Linked DNA regions of Homo sapiens: all the other regions are linked to region 2. Evidence: promoter capture Hi-C in 16 types of primary human blood cells and fetal thymus (Javierre and others, 2016). All regions are on one chromosome and are shown on one strand. Each heading gives the region's core, a stretch centred on a gene start or on the middle of the fragment in contact. The rest is flanking DNA. Distances are from core to core; before and after follow the strand shown.

The links. The method cuts DNA at HindIII sites, captures the fragments that hold promoters and counts their contacts. A CHiCAGO score of 5 or more calls a contact.
Region 1: a contact is called between a fragment that was not itself captured here and the fragment with the promoter of GUF1 in region 2, in 3 of 17 cell types (total CD4 T cells, total B cells and activated CD4 T cells). The highest score is 6.8, in total CD4 T cells.
Region 3: a fragment that was not itself captured here is called in contact with the fragment with the promoter of GUF1 in region 2 in 8 of 17 cell types (total CD4 T cells, total B cells, non-activated CD4 T cells and 5 more); the score reaches 13.2 in total CD4 T cells.
Region 4: a contact is called between a fragment that was not itself captured here and the fragment with the promoter of GUF1 in region 2, in 3 of 17 cell types (naive CD8 T cells, total CD4 T cells and naive CD4 T cells). The highest score is 7.8, in naive CD8 T cells.
Region 5: a fragment that was not itself captured here is called in contact with the fragment with the promoter of GUF1 in region 2 in 1 of 17 cell types (naive CD8 T cells); the score reaches 7.7 in naive CD8 T cells.
Region 6: a contact is called between a fragment that was not itself captured here and the fragment with the promoter of GUF1 in region 2, in 1 of 17 cell types (activated CD4 T cells). The highest score is 5.4, in activated CD4 T cells.

What each region holds. Positions count from the first base shown.
Region 1 is chr4:48,018,664-48,021,417 of GRCh38, forward strand. The region is part of intron 1 of NIPAL1 (NIPA like domain containing 1); the gene reads left to right. Among named protein-coding and RNA genes, the nearest start is that of NIPAL1, 3.3 kb to the left of the region's middle. The HindIII fragment of the contact is 645 bases long and covers 939-1,583 here.
Region 2 is chr4:44,677,063-44,679,762 of GRCh38, forward strand. It overlaps GUF1 (GTP binding elongation factor GUF1), which reads left to right and starts at 1,358. Exons shown (of 17, transcript NM_021927.3): 1 at 1,358-1,725. The coding sequence starts at 1,561. RefSeq lists an enhancer at 577-1,465 and a silencer at 1,537-1,696. The HindIII fragment of the contact is 9,672 bases long and covers 1-2,700 here.
Region 3 is chr4:47,907,764-47,910,571 of GRCh38, forward strand. The region is part of intron 3 of NFXL1 (nuclear transcription factor, X-box binding like 1); the gene reads right to left. Among named protein-coding and RNA genes, the nearest start is that of NFXL1, 5.4 kb to the right of the region's middle. The HindIII fragment of the contact is 5,714 bases long and covers 1-2,808 here.
Region 4 is chr4:47,890,927-47,893,626 of GRCh38, forward strand. The region is part of intron 11 of NFXL1 (nuclear transcription factor, X-box binding like 1); the gene reads right to left. The region is part of intron 2 of LOC101927179 (a long non-coding RNA gene); the gene reads left to right. Among named protein-coding and RNA genes, the nearest start is that of NFXL1, 22 kb to the right of the region's middle. The HindIII fragment of the contact is 3,608 bases long and covers 1-2,700 here.
Region 5 is chr4:47,870,618-47,873,317 of GRCh38, forward strand. All of the region lies in intron 18 of NFXL1 (nuclear transcription factor, X-box binding like 1), which reads right to left. All of the region lies in intron 1 of LOC101927179 (a long non-coding RNA gene), which reads left to right. Among named protein-coding and RNA genes, the nearest start is that of CORIN, 34 kb to the left of the region's middle. The HindIII fragment of the contact is 4,683 bases long and covers 1-2,700 here.
Region 6 is chr4:47,849,407-47,852,106 of GRCh38, forward strand. It overlaps NFXL1 (nuclear transcription factor, X-box binding like 1), which reads right to left. Exons shown (of 23, transcript NM_001278624.2): 21 at 2,450-2,536; 22 at 1,689-1,742. The region is part of intron 1 of LOC101927179 (a long non-coding RNA gene); the gene reads left to right. Among named protein-coding and RNA genes, the nearest start is that of CORIN, 13 kb to the left of the region's middle. The HindIII fragment of the contact is 3,566 bases long and covers 1-2,700 here.

The sequences.
Region 1 (2,754 bases), core at 11-2,510, 3.3 Mb after region 2:
ACTTGTTCATTCAAATAACAAGAGTCCCATGTGCCAAGCACTGGCATAGGTGCTGGGATAGAGGGATCTGCAAGACAGTCTGGTCCCAGACTCTAGGACTAGGTTCCTGCTCTCAGGCACCTTACTGTTCAGATGGCAGCTACTATGCAAGAAACAAAGTAATTTAAAAGATCATTATAATAGCAGTAATGTATCAAGAGTGTTGGGATGTTTAGATTGGGTATTCAATGAAAGCCCCTTACGAAAGTGATATTCAAGCTGAGACCCAAATGACAAGGGGTCAGTCATGAGATCTGAAGATAGAACATTCCAGTTGAACTTCCATGAAGAAAAAGTTAATTTCATACTTTGGTTTTGACTTTTTTTTGTTTTTTTGAGGCGGAGTGCCACTCCGTCACCCAGGATGGCATGCAGTGGTGCAATTTCAGCTCACTGCAACTTCCACCTGGGTTCAAGCAATTCTCCTGCCTCAGCCTCTCAAGTAGCTGGGAATACAGGCACATGCCACCATGCCCAGCTAATTTTTGTATTTTTAATACGGGTTTCACTGTGTTGACCAGGCTGGTCTTGAACTCCTGACTTCAAGTGATACTCCTACCTTGGCATCCCAAAGTGCTGGGTTTACAGGCATGAGCCATCCCCCACCCCACATTGGTTTTGACTTTTAAAGCTATAGATGCTTCAAAAGAGTCTCTAATCCAAAATTATCTTTAAAAGAAACAAATGCAAATATGTATGAAGGTTGTTATAAAGCTGTAATTAAGCCATATGAGGAAGTCTATTTGATTGGGAACATATGATGGAAAGTGACTGAGAGGTTCCTTTAGATTGGGAAGGCAGGAAAGGCCTCTCTGAGTTGCTTAGTCCTCTCACTCAGAAGAAGCTAGCTATGCCAGCCAGCACTCTGTAACAGGCTCAGGAACAGCTGCTTTTTAAAAAGCTTAAGGTGAGAAGGAACTTATTCTATGAAAGGAACAGAAGAAAAGGCAATAGTAGGGAATGAGGTTAGGCAGCTGGAGACAGGATTCCACAGGGCCTTATAGGCTATAGTGGGAATTTTGGATTTTTTTCGGAATGAGAAGGGAAGCCCTTGTGGAGTTTTGGAAGGAGGAATGACAAGATCAGACCTACTTGTCTAAAGGTTCATTTCACCTGATCCTTCTCCCACCTACTCTTTAGCCACATCTCATACCATCTCCCTTTCTGTCACCCCAGGCAACCTGGCTGACTGCAGTTTCTTCAACCCCTCAGGGTTTCTGCTTTTAGACTTAGCAGAGAGGCTCTTTTGTTTAATCCTGTTTTAAAAAATATATTCCTTGATGCTGCTTTTACTACTTGCTATGGCACTCTTAACATACGTATAGTTATTTGTTTGTTAATCCTATCTGCCCCCACTGGAATATAAGAGAGCGGGACCATTGTTGTATTCATTTTTCTATCTCCAGATTCTAGAAAATGCCCAACAGGTAGTACACCATACATATTTGTTGAATGAAGGAAAAGAAGATTAGTGTTTCAGAGAGGGGTGAGAGGGAGAGTAATGCAATATGATGTCAGAGACGAGCCAGTTTCAGAGCATGAGAAGCTTTAAAGTTCAAAGTTAGTGAGGAGTTGAGATTTTGTTGTAAGTTGAGATGAAAAACCATGACAGGGGACAGGGAGTATTAAGCCAGGGAGTGATATAACCTACTTCCCACTGGTTAGCGTTTGGAGAATAAATTGTAACAGATATAAAGAGATTTCATTCAGTCATTCCCATGCTAATATGAATAGGCAGGTATATCACATATTCTTGCTTAGGTTTCTAGGTCAGCTGAAGGTTGACTGATCTAGATGGGGCTCACCTATATGTCTCTGCTTCAGGCTAATGTCCACCTGGGTTTGGCTCCTTCATGTGGGATGAGCTCAGATCTGCTCCATGTGTCTTCATTTGGGTGCAGAGGCTGAAGGGACAGCAGCTCCTCAGGGAATTACAGAGATGCAAATGAGTAAACCCAACCACATAAGCATCTTTGAAATCTAGCTTCATATCACTTCTGCTGACTTCCCATTGGCCACCAACTTACTTCCAGCCCAACATCAGGTGAAGCACCTTTGCCCACATTGGGAAAGGTAAGGGGCTGAATACTGAATGAATAATAATCCAAACTATCACAGTAGAATAGATGGTGAGACCCCCAACTGGAAATATCTTGCGGTGATTAAAAAGGTAGTTTTATACAATTATTGACTTTCTTAAAACCAGATTTCTATTCCATGTAATAAACTGGATAATTTAAATTATTATTTAAATTTATATTATTATTCTCTATAGGCAAATATTTGACAAATTATTTAAAGCATTTCATCCTTATATAAACATGAATAATAAATTTCAACTGGCTTTTTCTTGTACTTTATGTTTTTATTTTTCTGAAATAGAATGCTGGCTGGGAATTGGGTTACTTGGCCCTGGTTTTAGCAGTTACATAACTTTGGCCAGTGTCACTTAATATATTGGCATCAGTTTCTTTAAAATATCTCTCCTCTATCAGTGCCTATGAGTTTAGAACTGGTCCATCAGCAACATTTATGAGGCACCAGTATTGTAAGTAATTCTGAGAACAAACATAGGTTATGATCAAACTTTAGAATCATTGAGTCAAAGTCCCTCATTTTACAGATGCGGAAACTGAAACCAAGAGCCATTACTCAACTTGCCCATGATTATAGATAGTAGATCTTCATTTTTAAATGTTAAAGGTGTGTGTATGT
Region 2 (2,700 bases), core at 108-2,607:
CTGGTGTCTGCCTTTATCTTTGACAGGATATGGTGAAAATTAATGAGGGTAATTGTGCAAATTATGGAAGTCTGGGCAACATTGAATATAAATTATTGTGTTTACTTCAAGATAGTTGTTAAATTCATTCTCTTACAAGTGTGACAGAATTAGTCGTCTATCAAGTACTGTTTTAATTCATAAAAGTTCCAAGAAAGGGCCAGGCGCGGTGGCTCACGCCTGTAATCGCAACACTTTGGGAGGCCGAGGTGGGCAGATCACGAGGTCAGGAGTTCGAGATCAGCGTGACCAACATGGTGAAACCCCGTCTCTACTAAAAATACAAAAATTAGCCATGATTGCTGGCGCGCGCCTGTAATCCCAGCTACTCAGGAGACTGAGGCAGGAGAATCGCTTGAGCCCAGGAGGCGGAGGTTGCAGTGAGCCGAGATAGCGCTACTGTACTCCAGCCTGGGCGACAGAGCGAGACACCATCTCAGGGGGGAAAAAAAAATCCAAGAAAGAACTGAGTCTGGTACAGAATTCTTGATCCTAAGAAATCCTCCAAATGAAGAAACTTTCAAAGGCTCTGGAAACAATACGAATGATTCTGTCTTCAGTCACAATGATGAACTGAACACAGCTGTCATCTCCCTCCTTCGCACCAAATTCTGGATATTCCAGAAAAGCGCAAGAGAAATAGTGGGAGACAAACACTGGATGCAATCCTCCTATCACCTGTTTTATCCCCCATTCTTACTTCGTCAGAGCTCATTCCATGAAGTGGTAACTTGATGACGATGGAAACATTGGGGGTCCAGCATGGAACTTTTTCCCACCTTTACTTCTTGCCAAAACCTTCCTGGATTCAGTATTGCAATCAATGTTATGGCCCGTTTCCTTTCAGATGCACTTCAAGATTAGCTCTGTCACTGACAACATGGGGAATACATTTCGACCTCCAGATTTTAAAAGTGCCATTATTATTTTGCCATTAGGTAGAAGGCTAAGTCTCAACGTTGTGCTAATAATAGCATCTTTAAGTCCCTGGACTAAGACCTCGGCTCCTGGTTCGGGAATCAGACTGCCTGGGCGGCACTCCAGGCTCCACAGCTCCCCACCTGTGAGCTCCTGGGCAAGTCACTCGGTCCGGATTTCCAGAGGTAGTTTGGGGGAACTGACAGTACACACACCACAGGGCAGTAGTAAGAAAGAGACAATGCAAAGGAATTGGCACAGCACTCAGCAGACAATATAAGCTAATATGTACTCTGTCTACACCCTGCGTTTTAGGGAGTCAATCGAAAGCCTCCACTCACGTGACCACTCCACTACCCGGCGCCAAGACGCGCTGATGTCACGACAGCGTGCGGCGTGCAGACGTCGGCAAGCTGCGCCGCCGCTTCGGGTTGCTTCCGGATCTGGTACTTGGGCAGAGCTCCCCGGGGTTCATTGTCTTCGCTTCACAGGATCTGTTTGAGTCCTGTCCACCGGATCCTACGGGGGGTACCTTCGAAAAAAAACGGGCTATGCTGCTGTTGCGTGTGGGTACCCTCTCCTGACGCCTCCGCCGCCCGGGTCATGTGGACCCTCGTGGGTCGGGGCTGGGGGTGCGCACGCGCTCTCGCGCCACGAGCCACTGGGGCCGCGCTTCTGGTGGCCCCGGGGCCCCGGTCCGCGCCGACCCTTGGGGCTGCTCCAGAGTCCTGGGCTACCGACAGGCTCTACAGCTCCGCAGAATTCAAGGTGACTGCCCCCTGGAATCTGATTTAGCCAAGTTTTCAAACGTTGGAGTGCCCCATGCGATCTTGGACATGTATAGGGCTTTCTGGGACTAGCTCTGAACCCTGCTTGCAACTTGGTACAGGGAGGCAGAGCGGAGAGTGTGAGCACTGCTCAGGTTCCCGACCCTCCACTCCTCACTAGTGTGACCTTGGGCAAGTCACTAACTTTGTAGGTTTTCTCATTTTCAATGTCAAATGTTGATTTGTTTACGCGAGCCACTGGTCGAAGTGCTTTGCGTTTATTCATCTATTTAATTCTAAAAAGCCTACTAAGCAAGTTGCTAGTAAATATTAATATAACGTCCATTTTCCTGCAAATTAAGTAGCTATGTGGCCTGGGCAAGTTACTACATTGTCACTCTCCTACTTCATTTGTTGAATGCAGAACTGATCAAACATCCAGTGGCTAATTTGTGAGATTTGTGTGATGTGAGAAGTGGACTTTTTTAGACTAATACCTAGAATGCAGGAAGTTCTCGGTCTGTCTTTGTAGTTTTATTTCATTCTACCTCAGCCAGAGCAAACCTGTGTAATTTTGACTCTGGTGGGAGAGGGTGGGAGGTTCAACAACTCTGATAATTGTGAATGGATACATTTTAGTCAGAAAAGTGAAGTGACTGAAGGCAAGCTATAAGTAGGCAGAAAGACAAAACCTTAAATTAATCAACTTTGGCCCTAATATGCCTGTGTTTTTAAAAATGGATTTATATTGCAATTCGAAGTATAAAGATGGTGCAATTCTCTATACCTTTTGAACTGAAGGGAAAGAAAATCTACAGGGCAAACATCAGAATTAGTTTTTTTTCGGCAGACTTTCAGCTATAATTGTGCTTTTATTATCTGTCTTTATGGGGCTATTAAAAAACAAAGCTCACGTGAATTTTATATTTCATTGTAATTTCATGGTTTTGCTGATTGTGAAATATGCAGTTGATTG
Region 3 (2,808 bases), core at 298-2,797, 3.2 Mb after region 2:
CATACTAGACTGAAAGACATTATTGCATTTTCTATTTTAAAATAAAATGACTCTATCTAGAATGGTTTAAGTGAGTTCCTCTCAAAGCAGAAAACTTCTTAAGATTATTTTCTATAAGGTCCTTCAGAAACAAGAAACCCTCTAACCTTAGAGTTACTTTTTATCAATTCTTACCTTGCCAACCTAGACTTCTCAGCCAAACTTCCTAATCTTAATTCCTTAGCAGATATGGTAAATTCCTTAGAAACCTACTTGATGATGTACAACTATCTTCATGATCCTATCAATATACTCAGGCAACTATCTAATCACCAAGGTTATGTGTTGGGAAGGGAAAGGTGAAATACATCGATCCTTCTGTCTGAAGACTTGATTAACTCTCAGCCAGGCACAGTGGCTCACGCCTGCCACTTTGGGAAGCTGAGGTGGGAGAATTCTCTGTAGCCAGGAATTCAAGACCAGCCTTGACAACACAGGAAAACACTGTCTCTACAAAAAAATTCTAAAAAAATTAACCAGGCATGGTGGTGTGTGCTTGCAGTACCAGCTACTTGGGAGGCTAAAGCAGGAGGGTCACTTGAGCTCAGTAGTTCAAGATTGTAGGGAGCTATGATCACATCACTGCACTCCAGCCTGGGCAATAGAAGAAGACTGTCTCCAAAAAAAAAAAAAGACTAACTCTCATGCTCTTTATTTGCGTTTATGCTAACTAATGCTCAAACTCTGCTATGCTTCTGATTCTGTCATACTAACTAACAGGCCTGAATCCTGGCATCACTGGCCTTATACTTCTCATGAAAGCACAAGATAATAACTAAGGAACACATTAGTATAGTGTAGATGGAGAGAGCTTAGGATGTGGGGCCTTATGATCAAGGGAAGACATGACTGAAAAAAGAAACAAATTTTTGGCCTGGCGCAATGGCTCACGCCTGTAATCCCAGCACTTTGGGAGGCCGAGGCGGGCGGATCACGAGGTCAGGAGATCAAGACCATCCTGGCTAACACAGTAAAACCCCGTCTCTACTAAAAACACAAAAAATTACCCGGGCATGGTGGCGGGCACCTGTAGTCCCAGCTACTCGGGAGGCTGAGGCAGGAGATTGGCATGAACCCGGGTGGTGGAGCTTGCAGTGAGCTGAGATTGCGCCACTGCACTCCAGCCTGGGCGACAGAGTGAGACTCCGTCGCAAAAAAAAAAAAAAAAAAGAAACAAATTTTTTAAAAGAAAGCAGCAGTTACGATAGAAAATCTCTAATAATCAAGCCACAAAATACATTAAACATTCCAGCAAACAGATATACAGCACAGACTACACAACAGGCACTACTGTAAGCACTACAGTACTTACACATACTGATTCATTTCATCCTAACAACTCTACAGTATTTAGTATCATTATACCCATTTTACAAAAGAAACTAAGCCCCTAAGATGCTAAGCAATATGTCAAACATCCTACAGCCAAGTAACAAAGCCAAGAATCAAACCGTAGCAATCTGATTCAAGTGTCAATGTTCTTAACTGCTGTACAATGCTGCTTTTTCCCCATAAACAGGTACAAAAGTAACCGTCTAGTCTCCTCAGAATTTTCCTGCTTTTACAGAGAAAATGAAATCAGCCCAGTAATGGCTCTAAAGCTAAGTCAACTAGGTTTAAACCCAGCTCTGCCAATTACTAATTGTCTAACTCTAGGAAAGTCACCTCTCCTCTGTAGAATTGTTTCCCAAAATATTTGTAAGGTTTTTCCTGGTTTTAACAGTATACTAAAGTAAGAAAAAGAACCAAGCAAGGGCATAAATATATATTACTAATAAAAGGTATATAAACAATATGACATATCTACAAATATATTAATAAATGTTGACATTACATGCAAAAATATTTCTTTCTTTCTTTTTTTTTTTTTAATTGAGACGGAGTCTTGCTCTGTCTCCCAGGCTGGAGTGCAGTGGCGCAATCTCAGCTCACGGCAACCTTCACCTCCCAAGTTCAAGCAATTCTCCTGCCTCAGCCTCCTGAGTAGCTGGGATTACAGGTGTGTGCCACCATGCCCAGCTAATTTTTTTGTATTTTTAGTAGAGACGGGGTTTCACCATGTTGGCCAGGCTGGTCTCAAACTCCTGACCTCAAGTGATCCCCCGGCCTCGGCCTCCCAAAGTGCTGGGGTTATAGGCGTGAGCCACTATGCCTGGCCTACATACAAGAATATTTCTAATAATAATTTTAAAGTATAAAAGGCAGAAAGTTTAATAATATTTACATTTAAAATAATCTATTTTTACACTTAATACTAAAGTGGTACACAGCAACATCACTTTGGCCCTCTCTCACATAAACAAACGTGGCTTTAAGAGCAATCAGATATAAACCACAGATAACACGAATGTACATGTCAAACCTGAGGAAATTTAGGTTTTTTAAAAAAAGTACGGCTAGGTGCAGTGCACATGCCTGTAGTCTCAGCTACTCAGGAAGCTGAGGCAGGAGGATCACTTAAGCCCAGGAGTTGAAGACTGCAGTGAACTACGCACCACTACGTACCACTGCGCTCCAGCCTGGGCAACAGAACAAGACCCCAACTCTAAAAATAAATACATGAAAATCAGATGTTGTAAATAAGATATAAAATAAGGAAATAAAGAATTAAAAAGACTTCAAGACGCATTTAACATGATGAAAAAAAATGAATAGATTGAAAGGAGTACACAAAGTACTCTAGTTCAATCAAATCATCACAACCAGAAAAAACTTGCCCCAGTCCACCGCTCAGGAGCTTTAGCAGCCCCATCCAAGCATTCTACTGAA
Region 4 (2,700 bases), core at 51-2,550, 3.2 Mb after region 2:
TATTCTATGATTCAAAACATTTCCATCAGATAATTTCATTCCTTTATCTATGCAGAGACTAACAACATTAACCAAAGGAATGTCAATTCAGGAAAACAATTAGTCTGGTTTTTAAAAAAAATTTAATTAAAATCAAATTCAACGTATAGATTCATTTGGCAGTTATTTATTTTCTTTTTCTTTTTTTCTTTTTTTTTTTTTTCTTGAGACAGAGTCTGGCTCTGTCTCAGGTTAGAGTGTAATGGCACAGTCTTGACTGACTGCAACCTCCACCTCCCAGGCTCAAGCCATCCTCACACCTCAGCCTTCTGAGTACCTAGTTCTACATGCTCTCCCCACCACACCTCAGTAGTTTGTGTATTTTTGGTAGAGATGGAGTTTTGCCATGTTGCCCAGGCTGCTCTCAAACTCCTGAGCTCAAGCGATCTGCCTGCCTTGGCCTCCCAAAGTACTTGGATTATAGACATAAGCCACTGCTCCTGGCTTCGTTTGGCAGTTATTTTCAAACCATAGATTAAGAGATTAAAGAAGAGAAGCAGAGATAGGCTACTTGCATCCAGCTTTCTTTGTCACTTCCCTGGTTTCACAGACACTTCCGTGTCTGTGAGAAATATAGCTATCTATGACCTGTCCTAATTTTTCAATCATGGACACCAGTCAACTACTTCAAGTCTATATTGCCATCTTAACTCTTTCCTTAACTTCTTACTTACCTAACTTTGGAAAGGAAATACAGACTACAATTGTCTTAAAGAAACTTAGGGTTGTATATAAGAGTAAGTTTCATTATATAAAAATAGCTAAAAACAAAATGTACATTATTAAAAAGCAATTAAGTCAATACAGTTTATTCTCAAAAATTAGCCAGGCATGGTAGTGCGTGCCTGTAGTCCCAGCTACTTGCGGAGGCTGAGGCAGGAGAATTGCTTGAACATGGGAGGCAGAGGTTGCAGTGAGCCGAGATCACACCACTGCACTCCAGCCTGGACGATAGAGTAAGACTCCGTCTCAAAAAAAAAAAAAGAGGCAATATAGTTTATTCAATTAGACAAGTGTTTATTGAGTAATACTATGTGCCTATCCTATCACTTTGCCAGTGGGGGAAAAGATTATGTGGTCCATGACTTGAATAAGCCAATAGACACTTCTGTTTTGAGTTATGATGGAGTAACAACAACCAGATTTACACTCCTGTCTCAAACCACTAGAAAACCACATAAAAGATATGAAGCTACAGTTTTCAGGTATTAGATAATGAGGCAGCACAGATGGCAGTCCCTAACAGAAGGGAAACAAACTAGGTAAGTCTTGCAATGCTATCAGCTTACACATGAAGACTTCTGGCTATAGCACAAGGAGGAAGATCATAAGCAGAATCTGGCTGTCTCATAAAGTTGAGTAGGCAAAATTCGTAGTTCAGAGAGGCCAGTGTGGCTAGAATTTGTGCAGAGAAGGCAGCAGTACAGAAAAAGCTCTGAAGAACTCCAGAAAGAACTTCTTGGGTCTTTGGCTGAGTACTGGTCTGTATGTGTGTGAGAGGAAACAATCCAAAAGCTGAGAAAGAACCACTGGAAGGAGAAGGCAGAATAATTTCAAGAGATCACACAAGGCTGGGAAAAAGTCTGTGTTCCTTACAGCCAGAATAGAAGGACCTTCTAATACCTGGGCATCAAGTAGAGTACTTAGAAGACTTACTGCCTCAGTAATGGGGCCAAATTAGCCCTAAACAAAAGAGTGTTCCGGTCACACTTAAAAATATCAAGCCTCTGAAAGAACAAACAGTTTTTGAGTAACTTAACTTTGCCCCAGAATAAGGCTTAAAAATATTTAAAGAAATACAAATAAACAAACAAAAAGAACCAGCACCCAAAAATGTAAAGTTCATGTCTAGTAACAATCAAAAATCATCTAGCAGACAAAGAAGCAGGAAAACATAACCCCAAAAAAGCAGAAAAGTCAATAAACAGAAACAGACTCAGAAATGAGAGATGACAGAATTAGTACACAGGGATATTAAAACAGACATTACAAATATAGCCTATCTCACATTCAAGTAGATAGAGGAAGCATGAACATGCTAAGGAGAAACACGGAAGATATAAAAAAGACCCAAATCCAACTTCTAGAGATGAAAATACACAACTTCTCAGATGAAAAACACAGGATGGGATAAAAAGCAGATTAGACAATGCAGAAGAAAATTAGCAATGTTGAAGACAAAACTATATAAACTAAAACAGAAACAGACTGAAAAATAAATAGTATCAGTGAACTTGGAAATTCAAGCAGCATATAACATACATGTCCTTAAAGTCTCAGAAGGTGACGGGTAGGGGAAAACAGAAAAAAAAATCTGAAGAAATAAAAAACAAAAATTTCACAAATATAATAAAAACTATAAACCTACAGATCTAAGCAGCTCGATGAAAACTAGGTTAAGAAACATAAAGAACACCATACCAAGGAACACCAGAAACAAACTGCTGTAAACTGGTGATAAAGAGAAAGATCTTAATAACCAGACAGAAAAAAAGAGAAACAATCAGTACAGAGGAACAGATACAACAATCACAGCATACTACTTATTGGAAAAAATGCAAGCTAAAAGATAGTAGAGCAATACCTTTTAAGTATGGGGGTTAAAAACTGCCAAACTAGAACTCTAAAGTAAAAATATTTTTCACAAAGACTAAAGCAAGG
Region 5 (2,700 bases), core at 95-2,594, 3.2 Mb after region 2:
GCAAAGGACGTCAACAGCCAATTCACTAAAATAAATTTTAAAATGGTCCTCATTAAAACAGAGAGCCTAGAAGCAATGAAACACAAGGAGCAAAAAGCACACCAAGTGGCTTTTAAATATCACTGCCCATTAAAAAGGCCCTTAGAGAAATGTCTAAGTCCTGGGCTAGGATATGTAAAGTACAAGATGAGCCTGGGCCATTTTTATTAGCCAGAAAAAAAAAGAAAATACTAAAACAAAGATGGAAACACATCAAAGGGACATGAGAACCAGTTTAAAGACACTCCCATGGGCCTTTGATGTTCAATAAATTAAACATCAAAATGATGGCGAAGGACCAAATAAAGAATCCACTGGTTCATGCCAGTATTAACATACGAGGTTGGGAGAGCTCTTACAGTAAAATGTCAATTAATAAATGTAGAAGATGGAGTTAGAAAATTCCCACTTGGCAAGTTTTTATTTGTTTTGTAAAATACACTTGGTTCTTTGGGAGGCCGAGGCGGGCAGATCACGAGGTCAGGAGATCAAGACCATCCTGGCTAACATGGTGAAACCCTGTCTCTACTAAAAAAAATACAAAAAATTAGCTGGGCGTGGTGGCAGGCGCCTGTAGTCCCAGCTACGCGGGAGGCTGAGGCAGGAGAATGGCGTGAACCTGGGAGGCGGAGCTTGCAGTGAGCAGATTATGCCACTGCACTCCAGCCTGGGTGACAGAGCGAGACTCCGTCTCAAAAAAAAAAAAAACAAAAACAAAACAAAAAAACACTTGGTTATTTCCATGGGTTTCTATGCTCTAGAATACTTTATGTAGTATCACTGGGATTAAATGGTCAAGGGTTTCATTAATGAAGCATCTGGGCACACATGCACGTGTGTTGTTCTTGAGAGCTTTTTCTATTTTCTCAAATGTTATCGTAGTAACAACTCATTTACAACAGAATCATCAATGGATGCTAAAATTCGTGGGTGAAAGTTTGATGAGGAACAAGCTATATAAATAAACAGAATGCAGGTGTGACACTGCCCAAGTTCATTACTATCCATTAATAATGTAAAATTGCCCTCTAAATTCCCCCTACAAAACTTCTAAGACTAAAAATTATAATACTTTATTTTTGAGATTTCAACAAAATAACTTTAATATAAGAAAAGAATAAAATTTGTCTTCTATAATTTAACAAAGCATGAGTCTAGAGTTTAGGGAACAAAAATGTTAGCTAATATGAACAGGAATTTTTCAAAATGTAATTATGCTAAAAAATATGAAATAAAGTAATATTCCCAAATGAAACTTGAGGAAAATATATTTACAAAAAGCTCACTTTACGGACTGGAGTGAAACAGCCAGGAGAGTTAAGTGGTAAATTATGTTATATCATTATTAAATAAAAGGGAAATTTTTTTCTTCTATCTAAATAATCCATAAGCAAAAACTGGCATTTTTTTAAATGAAGAAAACATACTGGTTTGGTCATATCCTAGTGTGATAGGTGCTATAACAGCAACGCTTGTAATAAAGGCCTACCTTTTAAATCTATAACTTAAAAATTATGCTTAAGTAGGCTGGGCATGGTGGCTCACCCCTGTAATCCCAACACTTTGGGAGGCCAAGGTGGGTGGATCACGAGGTCAGGAGTTTGAGACCAGCCTGACCAACATGGTGAAACCCCATCTCTACTAAAAATACAAAAATTAGATGGGTGTGGTGGCACGTGCCTGTAATCCCAGCTACTCAGGAGGCCAAGGCAGGAGAATTGCTTGAACCCAGGAGGCAGAGATTGCAGTGAGCCAAGATCGTGCCACTGCACTCCAGCCTGGGCAACAGAGCGAGACTCTGTCTCAAAAAAAAAAAAAAAAGAAAAAAAAAATTATGCCTAAGTCAACTACTGGCATAGCTCAGAGATATTGCAGGTTCAGTTCCAGACCACCTTAATATAGCGAATATCATACTAAAGCAAGTCACACACATTTTTTGGCTTCCCAGTGCATATAAAAGTTATGTTTACACAATACTGCAATATACTAAGTATGCAATAGCATTACATCATAAAAAACAATGTGTATACCTTAACAATACTTTATTACTAAAACCTGCTAACACTCATCTGAGCCTTCAGTCAGTCTTAATGTTTTCACAGATGGAGCATCTTGCCTAGATGTTTATGGCTGCTGACTGATCAGGGTGGTGGCTGCTGAAGATTGAGGTGGCTATGGCAATTAAAAAAAATAAGACAATAGAGTTTGCTGCATCAATTGACTCTTCCTTTCAGGAAGATTTCTCTGTAGCATGTGATGCTGTGTTTCATAGCATTTTACCCACAGTAGAACTTCTTTCAAAATTCCTATCAAACCTGCTGCTGCTTTATCAACTAAGTTTGGGTAATATTCTAAATCCTAATCCTTTGCTGTCATTTCAGCAATGTTCACAGTATCTTCACCAGGAATAGATTCCACTTTCTTTGTTCATCCATTAGAAGCAACTTCTCATCTGTTCAAGTTTTATCATGAGATTGCAACAATTCAGTCCCATCTATAGGCTCCACTTTTAATTATAGTCCTCTTGCTATTTCCACCACATCTGCAGTTACTTTCTGCACTGAAGTCTTGAACCCCTCAAAGTCATCTATTAGGGCTGGAATCAACTTCTTCCAAACTCCTGTTCCTGTTGACATGAATGTTCTTAATGACATCTAGAAT
Region 6 (2,700 bases), core at 148-2,647, 3.2 Mb after region 2:
AAAATATATATGTATTTAATAATATCCACCTAAAACTTTGTAAATGGTTATTTAATAGGAGGAAATGTAAACTTTAGTTCACATATCCATTACTGTGGTCATAAACCACACTTGAAAAAGATCTAATAATAAACTTAGTTTAATACAAAGTGGCATTCTTCAATGAGCCAAAATGTCAGACTACTCCCAAGTGGTTAGTTTCTGACATATAAAAAACGTCAAAATATCTTAAAAGCAGGCAAACTTGAGGACTACAGACACAGTAAAATAACTGACAGTTAAATGGTGACTCACAGTCACCAAGTATATATTATGTGCTGTATACAGTGATCCCTCAGTATCTGTAGGAAATTGGTTCTAGGATCCCCTTGGATATAAAAACCTGAGGATGATCAAGTCTCTACATAAATAGTGGAGGATTTGCAAATAACACACAAACATCTTCTTGTATACTTTAAATCACTCTAGATTTCCTATAACACCTAATAACAATGTAAATGCTATGTAAATAGGTGTTACACTGTATTTTAAAATGCGTATTATTTATTTTTTTTTTTTTTTACTTGTTTTGAAACAAATTTTCGATCTGTGGTTGGTTGAATTCACAGATGCAGAACCTACATATACTAAGGACTGATTATATTCTGTTTAAAGAGTCAGTAAACAGGGAATGTATCTAAGATTTTCATCCATGATGATTTATAAAAAGATAGCAAAGGGAATAAGGAGAAAACATACTAAACTATTCTTAATAACTTAATCTCCTAGGATTCCAGCCAACTTATGTTTTACTATTTAGCTCTGATAACTTATTTTGGGGATATCAGGCAAATCAACTTTACAGAACCATAAAATCTCAAAGGTCACCTTGGCCAACCATTATTTACTACATGAATTGTTTCTAATGTTCCTAATTGTTCTAATTGTTCCTACAACTCATCAAAGTTTGAATTTCCTTATTCATGCAAATCACGCAAGTTTCAATCTCATCATTCATAAAGGCAGTAGCTTAGCACACAATACAATCTGATAAGTATAAAGCATTTCAAGATACAAACTGACAAATAATAATAAAAAGTTATACATCACTATTAGAAAGTCAAGCCACTCTTTCAAGTGTATGATCAATAAAGTAAATACTTAAACAGGGAGTATCAGGAATGTACTTGTTCTCTAGGTAACAACAAAGAACAGGTTATAATCCCGCATTTAAAGATCTAATAGGGAAATATGGGAATATATTATTAAAACAAATGTACTGATTAGTAAACTGCACTTATTTGTTATAGGTGGTCTGCAACTCAGTAAAATAGAACTCAAATACTTTTAGTTAAGTAAAGTCATGGTCTCCAGAAGATGCCTTACAATGGTGATGATTCGCTCACTCTCACTCCCCAGCCAAAGGAGGAATTAAAATTCTTCTGGCTGAAGTATGGATGATATTGGCAAGAAAGTAAATTGGAAATACAAAAAAAAAATTTGGGAATATATGAGATCTCATACCTTTTCAGAGTTTCAGTATACTTAAAGTCAAGTTAGTAGATGGCTCATTTTTGTTTTACAAGAACTGTTATTTTCAGTTCACAATAGAGACTAGACCTTAGTTTGACCTTGGAATATACCCCGTGTTTGCACAAAATCTAGCAATGATGCTAAGAGACATAAATCTGGGTATTTTGTTTGGTTACCTGTTGTCTTCGTTTTTCTTCTTCAAGAGCAGCTTTGGCTTCTGCTTCTTTTATCTGTTTATACACATACAAAAGTCAATTTACAATTTAGTCATCACATTTTATATGGAATTTTAACATCTACCCATCCAGGTTCTATTAACCCATATCAACTTTTAGGAGCTTGAAATCATTTAAAGAAATGTAAATGCTATACTGAGACAAGGTTTTACCAAGGCACTATCTAATAAATTGAAGGTGGTCATGGATGGAGTGTTATACCTTATATGAGCATCTCAGCTTAACAAGTAAAATCGGTATTACATCGTAATTCAAAGAGTTAAAACACTGTAACAGCAAATTTTAAAACTGCCTTTTTTCCTCTTGAGTTGCTGTATTAAGAATCTAGAATTAATTATTAAATACTGCTGTTTCTCTAGAGTTAAATTTATCTTAAATGTGCTATCATGGAAGGGAATCCTTACTTTCAAACAAAATCAAGAGGTCACTGATTGGGTTGATGGAGGGGAAGAGTAACACTAGAGATAACCCAAGCAGCAAAGAATCTCAAAATCTTATAACGGGCATAGAAGATGAAAAGCCTTCATATACACTAGGCAATGAAAATCCCAATCTGCCATTCAAAATAAGCCTATAAAACTAGGCTTTTATTATAAAAGCAAAAAAATGAGATTTCAAGTTGTTTTTAATAAGTACATAAATGCACAAAATAAGAAGGGAAAGGCCACTAGTCTTTAAAATGATATTTAACGAGACATTACCTCAGATGCTTTCCGCTTCATTTCCTTGCACGTTGTGTCACATTCTATTGAAACCTGATTTTCACGTACTTTGTTGCACTGCAATTCCTACAAACAACCCGATTTTCAAATTTTAAATGATTTTTCCCTCAAAGACCTGTCTGCCATAAAAAAGCAAAGTTCATCTGATAGCTTAAGGTTATAAGTATTATTTGATGTCTTAATATTTAATGATGATATAGTTGCAAGCATTAAATATCTGCTTCAAATAG